Regions from separate parts of the Homo sapiens genome. Here regions 2 and 3 are each linked to region 1. Evidence: promoter capture Hi-C in 16 types of primary human blood cells and fetal thymus (Javierre and others, 2016). All regions are on one chromosome and are shown on one strand. The core of a region is centred on a gene start or on the middle of the fragment in contact, and the rest is flanking DNA. Distances in the headings are between cores, read along the strand shown. Region 1 holds the start of NME5 (NME/NM23 family member 5). Region 2 has its middle 30 kb from the start of MYOT. Region 3 overlaps MYOT (myotilin).

Region 1 (3,084 bases), core at 324-2,823:
TGGACATGGTGGTGCATGCCTGTAATCCCAGCTACTCAGGAGGCTGAGGCAGGAGAATTGCTTGAACCGGGACCTGGAAGGCAGAGGTTGCAGTGAGCCGAGATCGTACCACTGCACTCCAGTCTGGGCTACAGAGGGAGACTCTGTCTCAAAAAAAAGAAAAAAAAACTATAAAAGAGGAAGATTAAAAATATTCAATTCTATTTGATTTATCCTTAACAATGCTATTTATATTCACTTTCAAACCCCTAGAATGACAATGTTTACTAATTGCAGAACATAAGGCTTAAAACATTAAATGTTATGCCATAACTGAAAAAAGTACCAATAGCCTAAAATTCCATCAATAGAAGATCAAGTAAATAAATTGTAGTTCTAATACACAGGGAAATATTACACAGAAATTAGGAAGAGTGAGATCAATTCAGATGCAATGATCTGGAATCCTATCTGAGGGACTCTGTAAAGGGGTCAAGGGAAAGGGACTGTTCTGTTTTATGGGGGGAAAATGTTTATAAATGCATAGAAAACTCCTGGAAGAACAGAAAGTGTTAAGTGGTTGCCTCTCTCTGGAGCCTGGGACTTGGGGTAAAAGAGGACAGGTGAAGGAAAAGTCCATTTTATTTCTCATTTTACATCCTTTTAAAAACTATCACATATAACTTTTATACTTAGAAGAATAAACTTAAATTTAATGCTGAACACTAAGGGTTTAAATGGGTAGGCACATTTACATAAGCATTTTTTTTTTAAGGGCAGAGAGGAAAAAAGCATGAATCATCATACCCAGAAGTTACCTGAACAATGGTGAATCCGGATCTAAGAATAATATCTTGTATCTCCTCCTCTTTGTCAACAATATCTGGTTTGATAATGGCCAGAGTTTTTTCTACATATATCTGAGGTGGAGGCATTGATATCTCCATTATGGCTTTTCAGGGCACAAATTAAGAGTTTCTTAACAGGTATCAACTGCAATGACATGCATTTCCCCCCACCCCCATCGCAAATTCAATGTAATTATGATTAAGAATAGCAATAGTAGGTACTTGATTTTATTAACTGATGAAGGTAGAAACTGCCATGTTTTTCTATATACAGGGTCTCAATAATAGGATTCCTACTATGTCCAAATCGAGCCCCGGCTTTTCGTATACGATGTCACCAAGGCAGGAAGGACTATGGGCTCACATAACCAGAGGCCAAGGGGCGACCCGAAGGCCTGGAACCAGCAACAGCCCCAGGCAGCAGAGGGCGGTGGGGCGGGTGGTGGGGGCTCGAGGGGGCGGTAGAGCGGGTGGTGGGGGCTCGAGGGGACGGTGGCTGGTGGGCAACCACACACCATTACAGCGGCGGGTGAGCGGCCTCGGCCAGCTGCCTCTGTGAAGCGACCCTGTCCCGCAGGGACCTCTCTGTGCATAGGGTCAGGCTAATTGAAAAGCAGGGCCTCTAGGTCCGCGGGGACTTTCCGGGTTGCACCTGCAAATTCTGAATTTGACCCTCTCTAAGTACTCACCTCAGCGGCCGTCCTCATATGGTACAACTTGTTGCTAGGAGACCTGAAGCCCCAGCGTGGGGACGGTGGCTGCAGAGAGCCAATCCCAGCAAGGAACCTTGCAGCTTCTGGCCAGTTCGTTTTAACCAAAGGGAGCCAGCCAGTCACTTTTATTCTCCTTGTGAATCTTAGAGCACTAGATGTTTTCTGACATTTTACTCATAATTTATCTTATTTCATCCTTCTTCCCGTTTGAAGGATGCTTCAATTATCCCTACTCTATAAATGATAAGAACCCCTCCCCCAACCATTCCTTTCCAGGCGGTATATGTAAATGACCCGTGTCAGATACCTTCGTTTCACCAGATGATGCTGTGCCCTCTATGCCCAGCTTATCTAGTCATTAAAAAGCAATATTCCTATTGTGTAAATACATTTATTTATAGAGTAAAAGGCTTAGAAAAGATCTAATGGAATTGTCTTTAAATCAAGCCGATGGAACAAAGATGTGGGCAACATTTATGGCATAAATCCAAACCTCAGCTTCCCCTTTTTTTCTTTATATTATGTCCACATGCATCTTTGACTCGTTGGTTGTGAGTTAAGGTATTATTCTTGTTGGAAAAGAAAATGAGGACATGGCAAAGAAGTACCAGGATCCTCTCTAGGTCAGAGTTCCGGGAGAGATTCAAACTCTAGAAAAAGTCAGGATAGCAGCTCCAGGTTAGAAAACAGGTTTTCCATCATCCACTGGGTTAGCTGGTTCTCCTTCCAGACTACTTGAGCCTTTTCTTTTGTCTAACCAGATATTCAGTACCTAAAGGGTTAAGGAACACATAGCAAGCTATTATGAACCTTAAACACTAAAGTATTGCAAGTTTATTTTTTTGGCAAATAGACTCAACTATACTTTTTTCTTTAAAGTATGATGCTACCCAGAAAAGAAACCCACAAATGTCTTCTAGCTACTATATCTTATCCCCTAAAGATGGGAAAGTGTGAACGTACATTAATAACAACAGATGAAGCAACCAAAAAATACACAGTGACTCCAGCCTCTTTGGAGTTTAGCCCTTGACTTGAGGCTCTGGAAGCGGGAATTCCCATTACTTGTCTATCCTCAGCTCTCTTGAGAGCTCTTCACTGCTGCCTGCATTCCTAGACTACTTCACTATCAGAGCTGGACTTACTGAGGCTCAGGGTTTTCCAAACCAGCAGGCACATTATCAATCCTTCAGGGCCTTAATCACCTTTAAAAATAAACTCTGAGAACACAGTCACCTCGAAATCACCTTTATTCTCATAGGCGTTCTGAAATCAAGATTCCAGAGGCTACAGGTATCTGCATACAGTACCTGAATCTGCTCCAGGACTTCTTGCCGCATCTCCACAGCCATATGGTATACATGATGATCAGAGTCATTGTACATTACAGCATTTTGGAACATCAGCATCAGGTCTCGCAGGAATTGGGCCATGGTGCGAATCCGACCCTTAGAGAGATTTCTCTTCAGGCTAGTTAAGTCCATGGGTCTGCAGGTGGCCAAGAAAAAACAAAGAAAATCAAACCTTCATGTGGAACATATGAT
Region 2 (3,084 bases), core at 217-2,716, 300 kb before region 1:
TGCATATTTTGTACAAATATTTAAATAAACTTTATTTAAACAAACAGAACAAACTTCCCAAACTTTCCCCAGAGAAATGGATCCGACTGTTCACTGCTGACTATATGGACTATGAAATCACAGAGCTCCCAGGGATCTTAGCAACAACTGCTGCCAGAGTCTCAATCTGTTGGCTTCTCTGAGTCTAGCAGTTAATAAGAGGATAAGAACATCTGCCTTCCTTACAGGCTTGTTGTGATCACAAGATAAATGTGTGAAAGCATTTTGTGAGCATCAAGGACTTAATCAGTGTGAGACAGTATTATTCCAGTTAAATGCAACTTGCTCTAAAACTAAAAGAAAGTAGGTTCAGATATAAAGAAGGTAGGGATTTGCATGGATTTCCTCCCATTTTAGTTCACATGAGATCCATAGGTTAATTATAACTGGCTAAGGCTTTCTGCTCAGGACATTTGAAGTAATAACAGAAGAGGAATTCAGTGATAAGAATCCTTAACTCCACATCAGGGAACCTGGATCACGGTGCAATCTTCAGGTCCTAGAGAACTGATTTCCTGAGATGCCTTCCCACCTTTCCAACTCTGTTAAAATCTGACCCCTTGGGGGAAACACTGAAACCCAACTGACAGAAGAGAACTAGCAAAAATATATTTGAAGCTAGAAGAAATCAAATTATTTCCCCTGAGATTGACTCTGAGTTTGGTTTTGAGTTCTCACCTTGATGTACTTAGCTATCTCCTAGAGGAGTTGGATGGACTAACTAACTTAAACCTGGCAAGAAGCAGCAATAGGTATATCAGGACAAGGGCTAAGGACTTTTACTGACACTAGTTTATGGCCAAATCTATTTCTCATTCTGGCTCCTATTTATGCAGTGCATTAGGAGAACAGATGATGTCAACACCACCAGGCAGACAAGTTATCTCAATGCTCAGTTCCTGGCAGAAGAATTTGTGCCCTGATTTATTTTTAGTGCTTTTCTACCTTAGTAATCCAGTCAGCTGAAGAAGAGCCAGCAATCTATTCTTGGAGCACACCCATTTATTTATTCCTTAGCAATTAGCAATACATTTAGTCACCTAGGTAAGAATCTACTAGGAGTTTGGGGTCTCATCATTTGCAAACTTACAAAGACCACACAGGATCATTACCCCAATCCAAGTGTAAGTGTGGGCCTCACTATTTCATTAGTAGAAACCTTTTATTCAGGGAGAAAAACAAAGAAAGAGAGGCCGCTAACAAAATCAGGTATGCATAGCCTATCATTTTATCAGCAGGGTGGAGGTTGGGGTGAAAAGTAGGAACTCTACTTCATCTTTTATAAAATGTTAGACCTTAAGTTAAGGCACACATTTAGCTTATCATAAGCTTCAAACTGGACTGTTGCTAGGAGTTCACAACAAACAGTTCCTTTTTACCAAGATGCAGAAAGTGAAATATCAAAAGACTAATCAGCCATTTCCACATCTTTACATTTGGATTTAACCCCAAATATTTAATTTTATTTCAATCTCATACAGCTTGTGAGGACAGACTTATTCAACATCAGCTGTCCTCATATTTAAAAGCTTCACCACAAAGATAAAATTAGAATCAAGTGAGGATCATATTCCTCAGCAAGAATTCTGCTCTATGTCCCACTGATGCCCCAAGCCACAACTGACAAATCAAATACCAGCATTATTGTTGTTTTTCTTAGACACTTCCTAAGCAGCCATAGTATGATAGAAACTGTATAGATAACAAAAAGAGGCAGGATCACTAAACTCATAGAATTATACCCATGGGTATAAATTTATTTCCAAGGTTATTTATCAGCAAAGTGGGAGGAAAGTATGTACTGTCTGGACGGAGCTGGGAGTGACTGGGAAGTCAACTATCACAAAACCCCTTTTTATTGTTGGTACTTTCCACTTCAGGAATTTTCCAAACTTGGATGAGGTTCAAATTAGACTAAAGACTGGGTAAAGTACAACTGTTAACACCAAATGTCATCATCTTGGTATTAGACATTGGTGTGACAATGTATTATATTTTAAAAAATGAAAAAGAATCTCAAGATTTTAAACTATTAGTTGTTGAACAATCACCTTTAATGGAGTCTAATTGTAAAAATGTAGCTGTAAAAATACATCGTTAATGTTCTGTGTTCAATTTGGAGGCATTTTACCAGAGGGGAAAATAATTCAGTTCTCAACAGGCATTTTACAAGAAGGAAAAGCAGAAGCAACCAATAAACACATAAAAGATGCACAGCCTCACTTATGACGAAAAATAAAGCAAGTTTACAAAACAATGGGATATATTATAAGAAGCATTGAGGAAGTTATTCTCAAATAACTACTGAGAATGTACCATTTAATAAAAGGGCAATTTAGCTGTAACTATTAAAATATAAAATGAATATTATTTTATCCCCTGTAATTCCACTATAGTATGATCCCATTTGTGAAAAAAATAAAATTATACACAGAGCTGAATATGCAGATAAATTTTCTGTATAGATATACAAGAAACTGTTAATAGTAGAAATTGGGGATTTGGAAAGGTCAGTTGTACCTTTCACTTTGTACCTTCGGTACTCTGAATTTTTAGAATTTTTGTCCTTAAGCATTTACTACTTTTATTTTTAAAAATATTTTTGCAGTAATAGGTTTATTTCAATTTTCAGGAAAATTCATTTGTGTGGATCACCCAAGTCCCTAAAAATGCCTTATGCATCAAAAGAATTAAATTATACTCAGTAGTTTTAGCACTGACTGTATTTTGCTATATCCTAAGTTTCTGACATTGGTAATTCCTGTATGTTCTGTAGAATAAGCCAGAACTCCATTCACTTACTAGGACAGATAACAAAGAAGGAACTTTTATTTTGAAAGTGGATTTGACCTCCCAGGATATATTTCTTCACACCCTGGTATCATGTCAATGATTAGAAAACATTTCATGTCAGGCAATTATAAGTACAATACTCTGAGCACACCAAATACTCCAAGACATTCATACCAAATTCCCACAAGATATTTTTCCAAGACCTCTGGCCCCAGGTTCAAGAAGGCAAGAATGTCACACTGAGTAAATGGC
Region 3 (3,084 bases), core at 196-2,695, 270 kb before region 1:
CTATAAAGCAGTGTGCAAACGTACTATTAGTTTGTAAATGGGAGCATTTATCAAGTCGTAACACTTAATCCACCTAAACTGGGAATAATGAGAGTATTCAGTGAACAAAGTGACTGAGGTTACATATACATCAGTGATTCTCAGGATTGGTTTTGATAATCCTTCAGGACTTCTCAGATATATTCAGAATTTCCCAGATATGACAAGTCTAAAAACAATTATTTAATGCTAATTCACATTAACAAATGTGTGACTTATAAAGATGATAAGCTAGCATTTTTAAAAAAAAAAAAAACAGTAGGCTAGGCCAGGTGTGGCTCACACCTGTAATCCCAGCACTTTGGGAGGCCAAGGTGGATGGATCACCCAAGGTCAGGAGTTTGAGACCAGCCTGGCCAACATGGTGAAACCCTGTCTCTACTAAAAAAAAAATACAAAAAAATTAGCAGGGTGTTGTGGCAGGCACCTATAATCCCAGCTACCTGGGAGGCTGAGGCATGAGAATCGCTTAAACCCGGGAGACATAGAGAGAGGCAGAGGTTGCAGTGAGCCAAGTCCATGCCATTGCACTCCAGCCTGGACAACAAGAATGAAACTCCGTCTCAAAAAAAAAAAAGTGGTCTATTATAATTCTATACGATTGAAAAAATATGAGATCTATAAGGCCAAAGAGATTTTGACACTTTGATCTAGGAATTCAATCTTTAAAAAAAAAATCGCTATTTTAAAAAACATTTTGTTTGGCTATTAACTGAACAAATCAGACTTTAAAAATTTATATAGACAACCATAAAGATCTTAAGACCTGAAATGTCAGGAGAGGAAATGTGTATCATTAGCTTTCAATAGAGTGTCCTGAATACTATGAAAATCACTCATTCACTCAACTGATAGTATCTCCTATACCCATGCTCTGTGTTCGTGGATATAAATGATATAATGATAACAAATAAGACATATTTTTTCTCCAGAATGTTTACAATCTAATGATTACTAACCAAGTTCCCAAAGCCAGTAAAAATTAAAACTCTGGCCCTACTTGGAGGAAATACATTTATACTTAGCTCACAAGTCCTTTTAATGATCCTTGAGAATATTTGGAAAGGATCATTTCAGAGAAGAGACCAAGATTGTCTCATCTGGATAGCCAGAGAACATTTATTATAATAATGGTAAAATACTCATTGAGGGCAGTGGCTAGTTTCCTCACATTAAATAGATTAATAAAGATTAGTCCCTGCAGGCCGGGTGCGGTGGCTCAAGCCTGTAATCCCAGAACTTTGGGAGGCCCAGGCAGGCAGATTACCAGAGGTCAGCAGTTTGAGACCAGCCTGGCCAACATGGCAAAACCCCGTCTCTACTAAAAATTCAAAAATTAGCTGAGCATGGTGGCGGGTGCCTGTAATCCCAGCTACTTGGGAGGCTGAGACAGGAGAATCACCTGAACCCGGGAGGCAGAGGTTGCAGTGAGCCGAGATCGCGCCACTGCACTCCAGCCTGGGCAACAGAGCGGGACTCCATCTCAAAAAAATAAATAAAAATTAAAAATAAAGATTAGCCCCTGCAGGGCTCTGAATGGATAAACTAGGTAAAAACTGAATAAAGCACTGTGATACATTTAAGCTACCTAACAGATCTAAAAATACAGGACTCTCTAAATACCACCCTATCCTCTATCAGAATCAACAAGGGAAATACGGGAGGGGCAAGGACATCATAGAAAAAATTTAGGATCAAAATTTGAAATAAAGACTTTATTTGCTTTTTTCCAGTTTACATTTCTTTCTCCTTCCTCAAATCATCCCATTTTTTCTCTAAAAATCACTTCAGTAGTATTGAAGAAACTGTCATTACTTTAGAAGTTATTTGCTGTTATATAGTGCCATACTTGGATTTTCTAGAATATGAAATTAATAGGAATTGGAAATTACAGGAAAGTCAATGACTGTGTAGACTCCATTCAAAGCAAAAGATTATTCACTAAAAGCCAGTGGTGTGCTGGTAAATGTCTAACAATCACTGGACAAAAGAGCCATTATTTGTGATATTTACCGATTTCCCTGGTGTAAATATTTCCACCACAACCAATTTCAAACTATAACATGAAATCATAGGAAGCTGGGAAAAGATGCTAAAAATCAGCCCATATGAACCAGCTCCAGAATACCACCACTTAATATCTACCCATAAATCAAACAAGAAATTCGGTCATCGTAGCTATAACAAAGAACAAAATTACGTCCTTTGCAGCAACACGGATGCAGCTTGAGGCCACTATCCTAAGCAAACTAACACAGAAACAGAAAATAAAATAGAGCATGTTCTCATTTATAAGTGGGAGCTAAACATTGGGTACATATGAACACAAAGATGAAAACAATAAACACTGGAGATCCCGAAAGCAGGGAAAGAGGTGGAAAAGGGTTCAAAAACTAACTATCAGGTACTATGTTCACCTCTTGGGTGACAGAATCATTAGAAGGCCAAACCCCAGCATCATACAATATACCCATGTAACAAACATGCACATGTACTCCCAGAATCTAAAAAAAAATTTTATTAAAGAAATTACTCATAAGATTGGAAGAGCTCTCAAGCTGCCACTAACTAGACTTACTCTCACATTCCTTAGGGAATATCTTCAAGGAAGGACATCCTCCTTATGTCTAATCTAAATTCTTCCTCCTGACACTTAATTTCCATTTGCCAAAAGGAAAAAAAAAAGATAGTAACCATTCTTATAAAATATTTCTTGACTGTTATTAGGGCAATTTGTTTTTAATAATACTAGTAGTACTAAGTGGTAAACTCAACATATCTAAAGGTAATTTGCAAAATGAGGCCAAGACCTTCTTTTTAAAAATCTTTTCTTTTTCCTTTTTAAAGCTATCAACAGTCCTCAGCTGGCCAACCTATAAATGCAAAGCCATCCCAAACTGCAAATGCTAAGCCCATACCAAGAACTCCTGATCATGAAATACAAGGATCAAAAGAAGCTTTGATTCAAGATTTGGAAAGAAAGCTGAAATGCAAGGACACCCTTCTTCATAATGGAAATCAAGTGGGCAAGATGTCTATTTTGTA

The links. The method cuts DNA at HindIII sites, captures the fragments that hold promoters and counts their contacts. A CHiCAGO score of 5 or more calls a contact.
Region 2: a fragment that was not itself captured here is called in contact with the fragment with the promoter of NME5 in region 1 in 1 of 17 cell types (total B cells); the score reaches 5.8 in total B cells.
Region 3: a contact is called between a fragment that was not itself captured here and the fragment with the promoter of NME5 in region 1, in 1 of 17 cell types (M2 macrophages). The highest score is 5.7, in M2 macrophages.

The regions. Positions count from the first base shown.
Region 1 is chr5:138,137,855-138,140,938 of GRCh38, forward strand. It overlaps NME5 (NME/NM23 family member 5), which reads right to left and starts at 1,574. Exons shown (of 6, transcript NM_003551.3): 1 at 1,517-1,574; 2 at 798-931. The coding sequence starts at 926. It overlaps BRD8 (bromodomain containing 8), which reads right to left. Exons shown (of 27, transcript NM_139199.2): 26 at 2,851-3,028; 27 at 1,916-2,312. The coding sequence ends at 2,220. The HindIII fragment of the contact is 15,003 bases long and covers 1-3,084 here.
Region 2 is chr5:137,836,301-137,839,384 of GRCh38, forward strand. No RefSeq gene overlaps it. Among named protein-coding and RNA genes, the nearest start is that of MYOT, 30 kb to the right of the region's middle. The HindIII fragment of the contact is 200 bases long and covers 1,367-1,566 here.
Region 3 is chr5:137,872,943-137,876,026 of GRCh38, forward strand. MYOT (myotilin) reads left to right here. Exons shown (of 10, transcript NM_006790.3): 3 at 2,887-3,061. All of the region lies in intron 2 of PKD2L2-DT (PKD2L2 divergent transcript), which reads right to left. Among named protein-coding and RNA genes, the nearest start is that of MYOT, 6.6 kb to the left of the region's middle. The HindIII fragment of the contact is 3,098 bases long and covers 1-2,994 here.